Linked DNA regions of Homo sapiens: all the other regions are linked to region 2. Evidence: promoter capture Hi-C in 16 types of primary human blood cells and fetal thymus (Javierre and others, 2016). All regions are on one chromosome and are shown on one strand. The core of a region is centred on a gene start or on the middle of the fragment in contact, and the rest is flanking DNA. Distances in the headings are between cores, read along the strand shown. Region 1 overlaps RTEL1 (regulator of telomere elongation helicase 1). Region 2 holds the start of DNAJC5 (DnaJ heat shock protein family (Hsp40) member C5). Region 3 overlaps RTEL1 (regulator of telomere elongation helicase 1). Region 4 overlaps ARFRP1 (ARF related protein 1).

Region 1 (2,700 bases), core at 182-2,681, 210 kb before region 2:
GAGTGGGGCCAGTGGCCCCAGGAAGAGGATGTGGGATGCACAGCTCAGCTGGAGGCGAACTCCAGGCAGGGTCAGGCCGTGTGCTCGGAAGTCAGGGCTTAGCTGGAGGCAAACTCTGGGCAGTGCTGGCCCGTGTTGGGGAACCAGTTGCCCCTGGGCCCCCGTGAGACTGCTGGGTCCTCATCCCTCTCTGCCTGAGGCCGGAGCTGCCCTGGGCTGAGGCACAGGGGGATTTGTGGTGGTGTTTTTTTGAGAAAGGGTCTCGCTTTGTCACCCCGGCTGGAGTGCAGGGGCTTGATCACAGCTCACTGCAGCCTCAACCTCCTGGGCCCAAGTGATCCTCTTGCCTCAGCCACCCGAGGAGCTGTGAACACAGGTGTGCACCACCGCACTCAGCTAATTTTTAAAATTTTTTTGTAGAGATGAGGTCTTGCCATGTTTCCCAGGCTGGTCTCAAACTCCTGGGCTCAGGCAGTCTGCCCGCCTTGGCCTCCCAAAGTGCTGGGATTACAGGCAAGAGCTTCCATGCCTGCCCAGCAGAAGGCTTTTCGAAGGAAGCTGTTTCCTGAGGCAGACTCAGCCCTGCTCATGGCAGCCACCAGCGTGGGGGTGAACTTGTTCTGTTACTTCCATCCCCGTGGGCCAAATGCTTTGGTAAAACACAAGGCCCTGTGTTTAGCTGTCTTGACAGTGAAAATGGCTGGGAAGGAAGGAAGGAACGGAAGGAAATTTCTCTCTCCTTCTGTGCGTACCCAGGCACGTGCACATGCATGCAGAGTACGCACACACGCACGCACGCCTGCACAAATCCACGCATGTTGCCAAGTCTCTGTGTTCCAGCCGTGGTGTCTGCCCCCCGGTGTTCTCTAGTTCGGCTTCTCCGCATTTCTGTGAATGATTCCGGCTTCTTGGTGTTCCCAGCAGAACTCCCTCAAGTCTGCGGCGGGGCTCTGACGGCGGTGGCTTGGCTGACATGGCCACATTGCTGAGCCTGTTGGGGGCTTTGCGTTCCTGTTCTGGCCGTTTTTGGCTCGTTTTCCAGGAACGGTCGTCACGCGCTCCTCTCCTAGTGCAGGCATCATTCCTTTCCCATTGATTTGCAGGGTTCTCTGTAAGTTCTGAGGATCCCATATACATATACTCTCTGTAAGTTCTGAGGATCCCATATACATATTCTCTCTCTAAGTTCTGAGGATCCCATATACATATTCTCTCTCTAAGTTCTGAGGATCCCATGCCGACATACATATTCTTTCCTTGTCTCATGCTGGTCATTTTTTCCATTTTCATGACAGGTTTGGTGAACACATGTTTCCTTGTCAGATTTTTGTTCTGAGCTTGTGCCTCCCGACCAAGATGCTAAACCGGGTCTTGTGTATTCTCCAAACTGCACTGTAGAGTGACGGAGCTTTGTGTCTGGGCCTCCATGCCTTCTGACGTCACCTGTGGGGGTGTGAAAGGCAGACTCTACCTTGATTTTTCCCAGCACGCCACACCGGTGGTTCTGTGCGCTGACCGAGCGGCTCGGCTTCCCCCAACTCCACTGGGCACCTGCCACACTTTTCCTCATGTTTTTGTTCACTGTGGTTTTGTCGTAAGTCCTGGTGTTGGCCTGAACCAATTTCTTTTTGTTTGTTTTTGAGACAGAGTTTTGCTCTTGTTGCCCAGGCTGGAGTGCAGTGGCGCGATCTCGGCTCACTGCAAGCTCCGCCTCCCGGGTTCACGCCATTCTCCTGCCTCAGCCTCCCAAATACCTGGGATTATAGGCACCTGCCACCACGCCTGGCTAATTTTTTGTATTTTTAGTAGAGACGAGGTTTCACCGTGTTAGCCAGGATGGTCTCGATCTCCTGACCTCGTGATCCGCCTCCCAAAGTGCTGGGATTACAGGCATGAGCCACCGTGCCCAGCCTGATATTTTTAGTAGAAATGGGGTTTTGCCATGTTGGCCAGGCTGGTCTCGAACTCCTGACCTCAGGTGATCCTCTCACCTTGGCCTCCCAGAGTGCTGGGATTACGGGTGTGAGCCACCACGCCCGGCCTCTTGTTCTTTTGAAACCTGCCCTGACGTTTTTTCCATAGTGCATCTTGGAGTCAGCGTGTCTACTTCCTGTAAAAATCTTACTGTGATTTTGACTAGAATGTGTTGAATTCCTGTTTTTTTTTTGAGTCAGGGTCTCTCTGTTGCCCAGGCTGGAGTGCAGTGGGACCATCACAGCTCACTGCAGCCTCAACCTCCTGGGCTCAGGGGATCCTCTCAGCTCAACCTCCCAAGTAGCTGGGACCACAGGCACATGCCACCATGCCCGGCTAGGTTTTTTTTTTTTTTTTTTTGGTGAACACCCTGGGGTTGCACCATGTTGCCCAGGCTGGTCTCGAACTCCTGGGTTCGGGCAGTTTGCTCCTCTCAGCCTCCCGGAGTGCTGGGATTACAGGCCTGAGCCACTGCACTAGGCCATGTTGAATTTCTAGATTAATTTGGGGCCCTCAGGGGCACAGAGAGGAGGGCTGGGCCAGTTGGCGGGAGGAGAGGCCCCTCGGGCTGCCGCATTTTCAGTGCATGGAGATGGCCTATGTTGGGGGAACACAGAGCTCACCGGGGGTCCCTGCAGGGAGGAGAAAGGGTCAGGCAGGTGCCAGCTCCTGTCCATTGGCCTGGGGCTGCATGATGGCAGGGGCCGGTGAACCGATGACCCCTGG
Region 2 (2,780 bases), core at 166-2,665:
GCGTGAGCCATGGGTCCCGTTGTATACATTTCAGTAACTATATTATTCCATTTGAGTGCTCACTTGTGCAGTTGGGCAGGTTTCCATTCTCGCTATTAAAAATAGTGCCTTCATGAATATTTCAGTGCATATACCTTTTTCTGTATTTAGGAATATTTTCTTTGGAAGAATGTCCCTAAAGTGGAACTGCTAGGTCTCAGAGGGACTCACTTAAGGCTGGTTCATTCATTCTTGCAGCTCCCAGCACAAGTGGAATATAGCTTCAATCTGAGATCGGTACCAGGCCCATTTCATTCTCTCATCCCTCCAATTCTGGCCTGAAATATTTCATTCTCTTGGAATCTATAGTTGTAGATATGAACCTGGCCTTTCTGCTTCTTGGGTTCCATAGGCCTTTTCTTGCTGCCTGCTTGATGTTGCGCAGCTTAATGACTGCTAGGAGGCTTCCCAAGCTCTGACACTTCCAGGCTGTGAGACTGGAACAAGCTTGGCAATTCAAGACCGGCATTATGGCAGTGAGTTATGAGGGCAGAGGAAGGAGGCCAGAGCGTGTTGAGAGAGAATTTGGGTTTCACGCAGTGTGTCACGGGAAGCCTTGGATGCTACTGGGTTTGTTTTAAAAAGATGACCGCACTGAACTCAGGTAAACGGGCAAGGGTGGAAGCGAGGAGGCAGGAGCACCGGCCGCAGAGGTCTGGGAGCTTCTAGGATGGGAAGTGGCCCAGGCAGCCTACGCGGGGCAGGCCGTCAGTGAGTGGCGGAGCGCCTGCAGTTACAGGGACAGGGAAGGGTGGCCGACGGGATGGGCAAGGGCAGAGGGAGGTGGAGTGGACGTTCGTGGTCCTGCCTCTCCACGCTGCTGTTTGGAGATGATTCCGGGAGGGTGGGAGGGCGCTGGCGACGGCATTTCAGTGGTTGGACAGGAAGGAAGGAAGGACGTCCCATCTCGGCGCTCCAGGGTTGAGCAAATGTCAGTCCCAGGACGGTGGCTCCGGGTGGGGGCGGGGGCGACGGTCCGCAGCCGTCTCCCACCAGCTCCCTGTTCAGTTCTTTGATGAGAACGATTACGTTTTCTCAGTCTTACTTAAAGCGCTGAGTAAACTCACCTGCAAGACCAGCAAGCCCTGCGCTTCTCTTTCTGCGCGGTTCCCCGCAGCACATGGCGTGTCCACCCGGGACCCACCTGCGGCCACCTGAAGACTGGGAGGACTGGCTCCGCCCCCGCGCTTCGTCCCCGCCCACTCATGGGCGGAGCCTCCACAGGGCGCCTCGGCCCCGGGCTGTCACTCGGGACTCCGCCCCTTCATGGACGGAGCCTCCGCTCGGCTCTCTGAGCGCATGCGCAGCCGGTCCCACCCGCGGCTCCGACACGCCGGAGCCCACGTCCTTCCGGGAGCGCGCGCGCCGGTGCGGGTGCGTGCGTGAGCGTGCTCGTCTCCGCTGCCGCTGCCGCTGCCGCTGCCGGTGCCGCACCCGCGCCCTCTGCCGCCGCCGCCGCCGCCGCCCGGGGTCTCCAGGCTGAGGAGTGCGTCGGCCGCTGCCCAGCAGCGCCGCGAATCGGGGAGCGGAGCCGCGGAGCCGGCGGGAGGGCGGGCGGGCGGGCGGACGGGCAGGTGAGCTCGCTGCGGGTCGGGCGGGCGGATCGGCCCACGTCAGGCCCGGGCAGGCGGGCGGGCGGGCGCGGGTGGGGGGCGGGGGCGGCACTCCAGAGCCGGAAATGGCGGCGACCCCCGGGCCGGGGCTGCGCGGGCGCTCGGGGCCGGAGCTGCTGCGACGCCGCGGCCTGGGCCGGGGCGGGGGCGCGGGAAGGTCGGCGCCGGGGCCTGCGGGAGCCGGGCCGGGCCGGGCCGGGGGTCTGAGCACCGTGGTGGGGGCTGGGGCGGCGCTCTCCGCGGGTCTCTTCGGGCCCGGACGCCCCCTCCGCTCCCCCAGGTCCCCGCGGCCGCCCCCAACCCCCCGGGGTCTCCTCTCCTGCGGGGGGACTGGAGAAGCTGGGCCATCGCTGGTCTTAGGGAGGCAGATAATTTAGTCCCTGGGTCGTTGTGTTTATAGCTCGGGGAATTGAAAATTGTTCTGTAACGCATCGTAAATTAATCTTTCCGACGTTGTAAATTCCAAAAAGCATTTGGTTTGTTAGAAAAAACCTGTTTTCTCCGCTTTATAAAAACATTTGAAGCCATGCTTTATATTGAACTCTTAAGGAGAGTATTAGGAACTCGTCCGTTCAGGTTCTAACTTGTTGGTGTTAAGTGTCTGGATTAAAGACTCTCTTTTTCGTGTGCCGAAGCCATGATTTCTCAAATTCATTCAGTTGTGTCATACAGGAAAAGGAAGCAAAAATTTCAGCTTTATTTTTGTTTTCCGGCTTAGGCTTGGTTGGGAAGATTTGATGGTGGTTAGACACGTCTGCCCTTATTTGCCTGTTTAGAAAAACCTATTCTAATGACAAAAACAGTTACATTGCTCCCACTATTGTCATGGTTACCTGAAGGCAAAAGTTTACTCAAAGCTTCTGAGATTTTATGTTCGTTTATTTGCTTCTCTTTTTAAAAAAATGTCAGCTGAGTTTCAGGAATGAGTAGTCTGTCAAACAAGAGATGAAATTAGAAGCCTGGATCTAAGGGCTTTGGGGAAGTTTCGGTTGAGTTCCCCTTTCACTTGTGTCGGTGCTGTAGGACTCGGGGTGGCTCCAGCTGGCGTCTGGCCCAGCAGAGAGCTGTAGGGGCCCGCTCTGGTTGCTGGCTGTGTGGACTCTGAGGGACACCCCTGGCGAGGGTGTT
Region 3 (2,888 bases), core at 96-2,595, 230 kb before region 2:
AGATGCCCACTTCACCCATTTTTGATAAACCAGTATCTGGGGTGTCAGATTCTTGGCTGTCTGCAGGGCCGAGTTAGCCGAATGCCACCTGCCTTTGATACGTGAGAACGTTGTCTGAGAACCGTGACTTCTGTGCTTGCTTGTGTCTGGTCAGCTTGCTACACGGACATCCCAAAGATTATTTACGCCTCCAGGACCCACTCGCAACTCACACAGGTCATCAACGAGCTTCGGAACACCTCCTACCGGTGGGTCAGACGAGTTTACACCTGTCTCGGGGTCCTCAAGAGAACCAGCTTGGCATGGTGCTGAGTCCACAGCCCCATGCTGTGCTGTGGTGGAGGGTGGTGGTCTTTCTAGACGCTCCCCCGAAGTGTGCAGAGCGCTGGTGCCCAGGGGTGGGGTGCGGCCTGGGCTGCCTCCAATGCCCATTACTTGTGAGGAAGCAGCTTTGCATCTGTGTGCTGACCTTGGGCGGGCGTCCTGAGCTCCTCGCAGGTGCTGTTGTAGCAGCTGTGCAGTAGGTCAGGGCTGGCCCCCAGTGCAGCTTTGCACATGAAGTAGGAGGAGGCCCTGCTGCTTGTCAGAGCCCAGCAGAGTCTTGGTGTTCTGTCGGGTTCCTGTGGCCGGACCAGTGGCAGGGTGCTGTGGAAGCTGTCGAATCTCCTCCCTCTGTCCAGTACCCCCGCTCGTCTTCTAGCTCCCTCCTACGCCCGGGCCACGTTTCAGTTATGCTCACTTCCTCTGACCGCCGAGGCTCCTGCGTGTCTCCATACAGCTCACGCTGCAGGGCCACGCTGTGGGTGTTGGAGACAGCTCCTCCTCGACCCACGGTGCTCTCTCCCACCAGGCCTAAGGTGTGTGTGCTGGGCTCCCGGGAGCAGCTGTGCATCCATCCTGAGGTGAAGAAACAAGAGAGTAACCATCTACAGGTAGGCTCCTGGGCTCCCGCTCCGGCTCAGTGTCCGACAGGCGAGTGCTGCTGGGTGTCCAGAGCCCCAGGCTGCGCTCCCGCTGGGCTAGGGTTTGAAGTTCACTGGGGGACTGCAGGGGAGGACCTGGTGGGGGTGGGGACTGGCTTCGGTCCTTTCTTGGCCGTGCTTCAGCTGCGCACTCTGCCCTTCCTCCCACAGATCCACTTGTGCCGTAAGAAGGTGGCAAGTCGCTCCTGTCATTTCTACAACAACGTAGAAGGTACAAGCAGCTGGGTGGGACCAGGGTCGGGTTGGAGTGTGTGCAGCCTCTCAGGGTGGAGCTCAGTGGTGTCACAGCCTGGTTGTGCTTGCCCGGTGGGGCGGCCAGTGCGGCCATGTACCTGGGCCCTGTCTTCTGACTCGGGGCCACCCATGTTAGACTTCTGTGTGGAAGAGCTCACACAGTGGTCTGAGACAGCCAGCCGGCAAGACTGCCTCTGGCTGGTGCCTGGGGCCTTGGATTTTGGGAAGGCTCCCTCCATTTCCTGATGAGAGGGTCTCCCTGCACCTAACCTGCTGGTGCAAACAGTAGGGGTTTTGCTGAACACCGGCTTTCTCTTCGGGGACTTTGTTGCTTGCCCAGCAGCAGGTGCTCCAGTGACCGGCCCTCATACCATCTTGGGAGGGTGTCCTGGAAGCCGTGTCTGGCCTCCCGCGACCCTGCCCCGTGTGTCTTTTTCCTGTGCTGACCTTGCTGCGGAAAATTATGGCCCTGAGTGTGACTCCAGGCTGAGTCCTGTGGGTCCAACACGGGATGCCTTGGGGCCTCTTCTGGAGACGGGATGTGAGTGACAGGAGCCGGCCGGGGCAGCTTGCCCTGTGACTGCACGTGGCCACAGCCTGTGAGGGCCGGGGGTGCTTCTCCACCCACGTGGCTGCCCCTCGGGTATGTCAAGGGCTTCTGGGGCTCATCACGGGGTCCTAGAGACAGTGGCAGGGTGCACCCCCGTTGGCTGCCCTTACAGTTTCTGTGACCTGAGGGTGGCATCTGTGCAGTCGGCGCGGTCTGTGCTTCTGTGGGATCAGGGTTCCCTCTGTTTCCTGCCTCAGTTGGGGCTCAAGCCTCAGGTGAGGTGGCCCCGGAGCACTCAGAAGGCATCGGCGGTCCTGTGGGCTGCTTTCTGCACTCACGTTTGCTGAGTGCTCAGTGTGCCAGGACTGAGGACCCTGAAGCTGCTCTTGTATTTAGGGCGGCGCTCCCCTGGCAGAGACTGAGCCAGGTGGTCCCGCATGACCCACTACCAGGCGTTTCTGGGCCCTGGCCCTTGGAGGGACAGGGTGGGCGGAACATGGGCCTGCAGGGAGGCTCCCGCTTACTGGAGGCATGTGCTGTGTTGCTGGAGACATCCTCTGTGTTGCTTCTTGTTCGCTGTGGTTTTTGGTCTGGTGGCACCAAGGACCCTCAGTCATCTTGATGTGTGGTTGTCCAGGCCTTTTTGTTGGTCCTAAGAAGGGGCTCTGCCTTTGTGCCCCCAGGTTCCCTGACAGGAGCTGCCGGCTCGTCCCGGTGATGCCTGCAGGACGTGACTCTGGGACGGGGGGTTGGGCAGATGTGCTGATGGAAATTCTCAAGCAGGCGTCATTTCCGAGGTCCTCACCTGGATTTCCAGGACAGGAGTGCCTGCTGGGTGTCCCCAGTCCCATGCAGCGGGGGTCCTTGGGATAGCATGGAACGCTGAGCATGGGCCTGGCCGGCCGTGGTCCTGGACAAGGGCAGTGCCCCGGTGGCTGCTGGGCCTGGGACCTGGTGGGGACGCTGGGCCTGGTACCTGGTGGGGATGCTGGGCCTGGGACCTGGTGGGGAGGCCTCTGACTGCCTCCTGGTGCTGCTTCCGTCTGTGTTAGGCCTCTGGGTATTGGGGCCCCCATCTGTCTCCTCCTCCAGGCCTGTGGACTCAGACCAGGAAGACACAG
Region 4 (2,700 bases), core at 20-2,519, 190 kb before region 2:
GGGCAGGGCAGGCCTTGAGAATGGCTCTGTACCCCCTGGGCAGTCACTGGGCCTGGGGTGTCTGGGTGCACACCTGCTCCCCTTGCTGTGGGGGAGGCTGGGGACTCGGGAAGCTGCTGCGGGAGGCAGGGGTGGGGCTCACCTCCACATCCTGCTTGTTGGCCAGCACCAAGACGGGGACACCGCACAGCGCCTCGCTGGTCACCACCTTCTCTGGGGAGGGCAGGAGAGGCAGCGCCTCACACCCAGCATCCTGCCTCTGACTGCCCAGGGGCCCACAGGCGTGGACACTGTGACAGCCACTCCCTCTGCCCCCCCCCCCCCCGTCACCCACTAGGCAGGAGCACTTCTGACCAGACACTGAGCCTGCCCCAGGCACAGAGCTGCCCAAGCTGGACCTGCCCCCACTCACCATCCATCCCTCCCAGAGCAGCCAGGCCGCACTCACCAAACGCCTGCTTGGACTCAGCCAGCCTCTCCTCGTCGGTGGAGTCAATGACGTAGATGACGCCGTGACACTCCGCATAATACTGGGAGGAAGCACCAGGAGTTGGGGCTCAGTCCCCACCCTGCCAAGGGCCAGCAGAGCCAGGCCTGTGTCATGGCCACAGTGAGGGGCTCACATGAGGAAGGGGCAAGAGGGCAGCCCCCAACTGCAAGACCCTTCTGGGATGCATTCTGGGGTTGCGGGGAGATCTGGTGGAGGTGTCCCCAGACGCTGCTCCTGAGAACCTGCCGGCAACCTTTGGCCTGATGGTGGCCAAAGGTGAAAGACAGGGATTGGGCCAGGCGTGGTGGCTCACACTTATTATCCCAACACTTTGGGAGGCAGAAGCAGGAGGATCACCTGAGCCCACTTCACGGCCAACCTGGGCAACACAGTGAGACTCCGTCTGTACAAAAGCTTATGGTAATGTGCGCCTGCAGTCCTAGCTACTCGGGAGGCTGAGGTGGGAGGATGGCTTGAGCCTGGGAGGTTGAGGCTGTAGTGAGCTCTGATCACACCACTGCACTCCAGCCTGGGTGAGAATGAGAGACCCTGTCTCAAAAAAAAGATAGGGTTTGGGGGCTGGAGGAACCTAGACCACAGCCTGGCCCGTTGAGGGAGTGCACCTGTGGGGCTCTGTGCCAGCACCTCGCACAGGGAGGGAGTGTGGCCATGCGGATAAGACTGACCAGCGCCATCTACGAAGCGAGCCTTCCCTGCCAGGACAGGGCCAGAGTCACTGAGCTCAGACCTCTGCAGCCTGGGCTGGTCAGTCCTGGGCTCGCTGGCAACACTCCTGGGCAAGACAGGGCACAGCCCCTGCAGCCTCAGGTACAAGTGCTGAGCCCTGGACCAGATGAGTGCACCTCTATCTCAATCAGAAAAAAACACAGCAAACTCCGCGTCCACGTGGAGCAGACAACAGCTCACATTTGCCACTTTGCCTCCAGGCTGTGCCAGCTCTCCTGTCCAGGCATGAGTGCCCAGAGACCTAGAACTGGATGCTGACCAGGTAGGACAAGCTGGTGGTCAGTGTGTTAAGACACACACACCCGAGAGCATGAGAAGCCAGGAGGCACAGCCCAACTCTCCGAAATCCTTAGGGTGTCTGAGCAGGGAGTACCAGACAACCCCATCCCAGTGCCAGACAAGCTTGTGCACCTGCACTTCCCACAGAGGAGAGAAGCCTGTGCACCTGCACTTCCCACAGTGGAAAGGAGGAGGCCCAAGGCCAGGCCCCCCCACCCCCAGGAACTTCCCACAGTGGAGAGGAGGCCCAAGGCCAGGCGCCCTCCAGGGTTCTGCAGGTAGCGAGGCCCCCCCACCCCCAGGAACTTCTCTGGCCTACAGACAGGTCCCACACAGAGGCCGCCAACCCCTCAAGGGACCCTGCAGTGTGCCGGCTGTCTGCTGCTGACACAAGGGAGCAGGCGGACCCTAAGGTGGAGACCTCTGTGGCAGGAGGGGCGGCTCTGTGGAGGCTGCAGCAAGCCCAGTGAGAGAATCTCCACGTGGCTCCTGGGGCTTCTGAGCAGGGTGGCAGAAGGTTCATGTGCAACCGGGTCCTGGACCATGGGACCACGTGGCCAGAGCCACCCATCACACCTACCAGGCACAAGGTGCACAGCCCAGCAGGGCCGCAGTGGACGGGAGCGACACCTCAGGGCTGAGTGCGGGCAGGACCCAGAGCCCCACGCCCCAGTGGAGGCGTCACAGCAGTGGTCATTGTGGGGTGCCCCACAAGGAGGGGGAAGAGGGAGGTGTCCAAGCGTGGCTCCTGGCTGGCCAGCTGACCCCAGTGGAGCAGTCAGAGGGACTGTGGGTCTGAGTTTTTCTCCCCAGCAGCAATGGGAGCTCCCCAACTGCAAAGTGCCAGCCAGCCTGAGAGACTAGTGTTACAGCAAAGAACCCAGGAGCTGAGGTCCTGGCACATGCCACACATGTGGACACCAACCCAGGGTCCAGCCCCAGGACGAGGCCAATTCGCAATGACGCCCCTTTCTGTGGTGCTGGCTCTGCACAAGGATGCAGGATACAGGAAACCAGGGTGGGAGCAGGGGCCTCCCTTCCGGTCCCTCCCAGTGACCTAGGGGGGTCCCTGCAGCTGATCCTCCCAGCTCTGAGCTCAGCAGGGTCAGGGGTCCCGGCCACTAGAGCAGCACATACTCAGCAGACACGCTGAATGACGAGCCACAGCTGCCTCATGGGCATGA

Evidence for each region. The method cuts DNA at HindIII sites, captures the fragments that hold promoters and counts their contacts. A CHiCAGO score of 5 or more calls a contact.
Region 1: a contact is called between a fragment that was not itself captured here and the fragment with the promoter of DNAJC5 in region 2, in 1 of 17 cell types (monocytes). The highest score is 6.9, in monocytes.
Region 3: a contact is called between a fragment that was not itself captured here and the fragment with the promoter of DNAJC5 in region 2, in 3 of 17 cell types (neutrophils, monocytes and naive CD4 T cells). The highest score is 5.4, in neutrophils.
Region 4: a contact is called between a fragment that was not itself captured here and the fragment with the promoter of DNAJC5 in region 2, in 4 of 17 cell types (monocytes, naive CD4 T cells, naive CD8 T cells and 1 more). The highest score is 7.7, in monocytes.

Annotation. Positions count from the first base shown.
Region 1 is chr20:63,682,731-63,685,430 of GRCh38, forward strand. All of the region lies in intron 14 of RTEL1 (regulator of telomere elongation helicase 1), which reads left to right. All of the region lies in intron 14 of RTEL1-TNFRSF6B (RTEL1-TNFRSF6B readthrough (NMD candidate)), which reads left to right. Among named protein-coding and RNA genes, the nearest start is that of TNFRSF6B, 13 kb to the right of the region's middle. RefSeq lists an enhancer at 709-1,433. The HindIII fragment of the contact is 9,518 bases long and covers 1-2,700 here.
Region 2 is chr20:63,893,711-63,896,490 of GRCh38, forward strand. DNAJC5 (DnaJ heat shock protein family (Hsp40) member C5) reads left to right here and starts at 1,416. Exons shown (of 5, transcript NM_025219.3): 1 at 1,416-1,613. RefSeq lists enhancers at 629-798, 731-1,258, a cis regulatory region at 714 and a silencer at 1,258-1,497. The HindIII fragment of the contact is 2,023 bases long and covers 485-2,507 here.
Region 3 is chr20:63,661,696-63,664,583 of GRCh38, forward strand. It overlaps RTEL1 (regulator of telomere elongation helicase 1), which reads left to right. Exons shown (of 35, transcript NM_001283009.2): 4 at 155-248; 5 at 851-932; 6 at 1,134-1,194. RTEL1-TNFRSF6B (RTEL1-TNFRSF6B readthrough (NMD candidate)) reads left to right here. Exons shown (of 38, transcript NR_037882.1): 4 at 155-248; 5 at 851-932; 6 at 1,134-1,194. Among named protein-coding and RNA genes, the nearest start is that of RTEL1, 4.8 kb to the left of the region's middle. The HindIII fragment of the contact is 3,638 bases long and covers 1-2,888 here.
Region 4 is chr20:63,701,688-63,704,387 of GRCh38, forward strand. It overlaps ARFRP1 (ARF related protein 1), which reads right to left. Exons shown (of 8, transcript NM_001267547.3): 5 at 449-530; 6 at 143-213. Among named protein-coding and RNA genes, the nearest start is that of ARFRP1, 4.9 kb to the right of the region's middle. The HindIII fragment of the contact is 735 bases long and covers 903-1,637 here.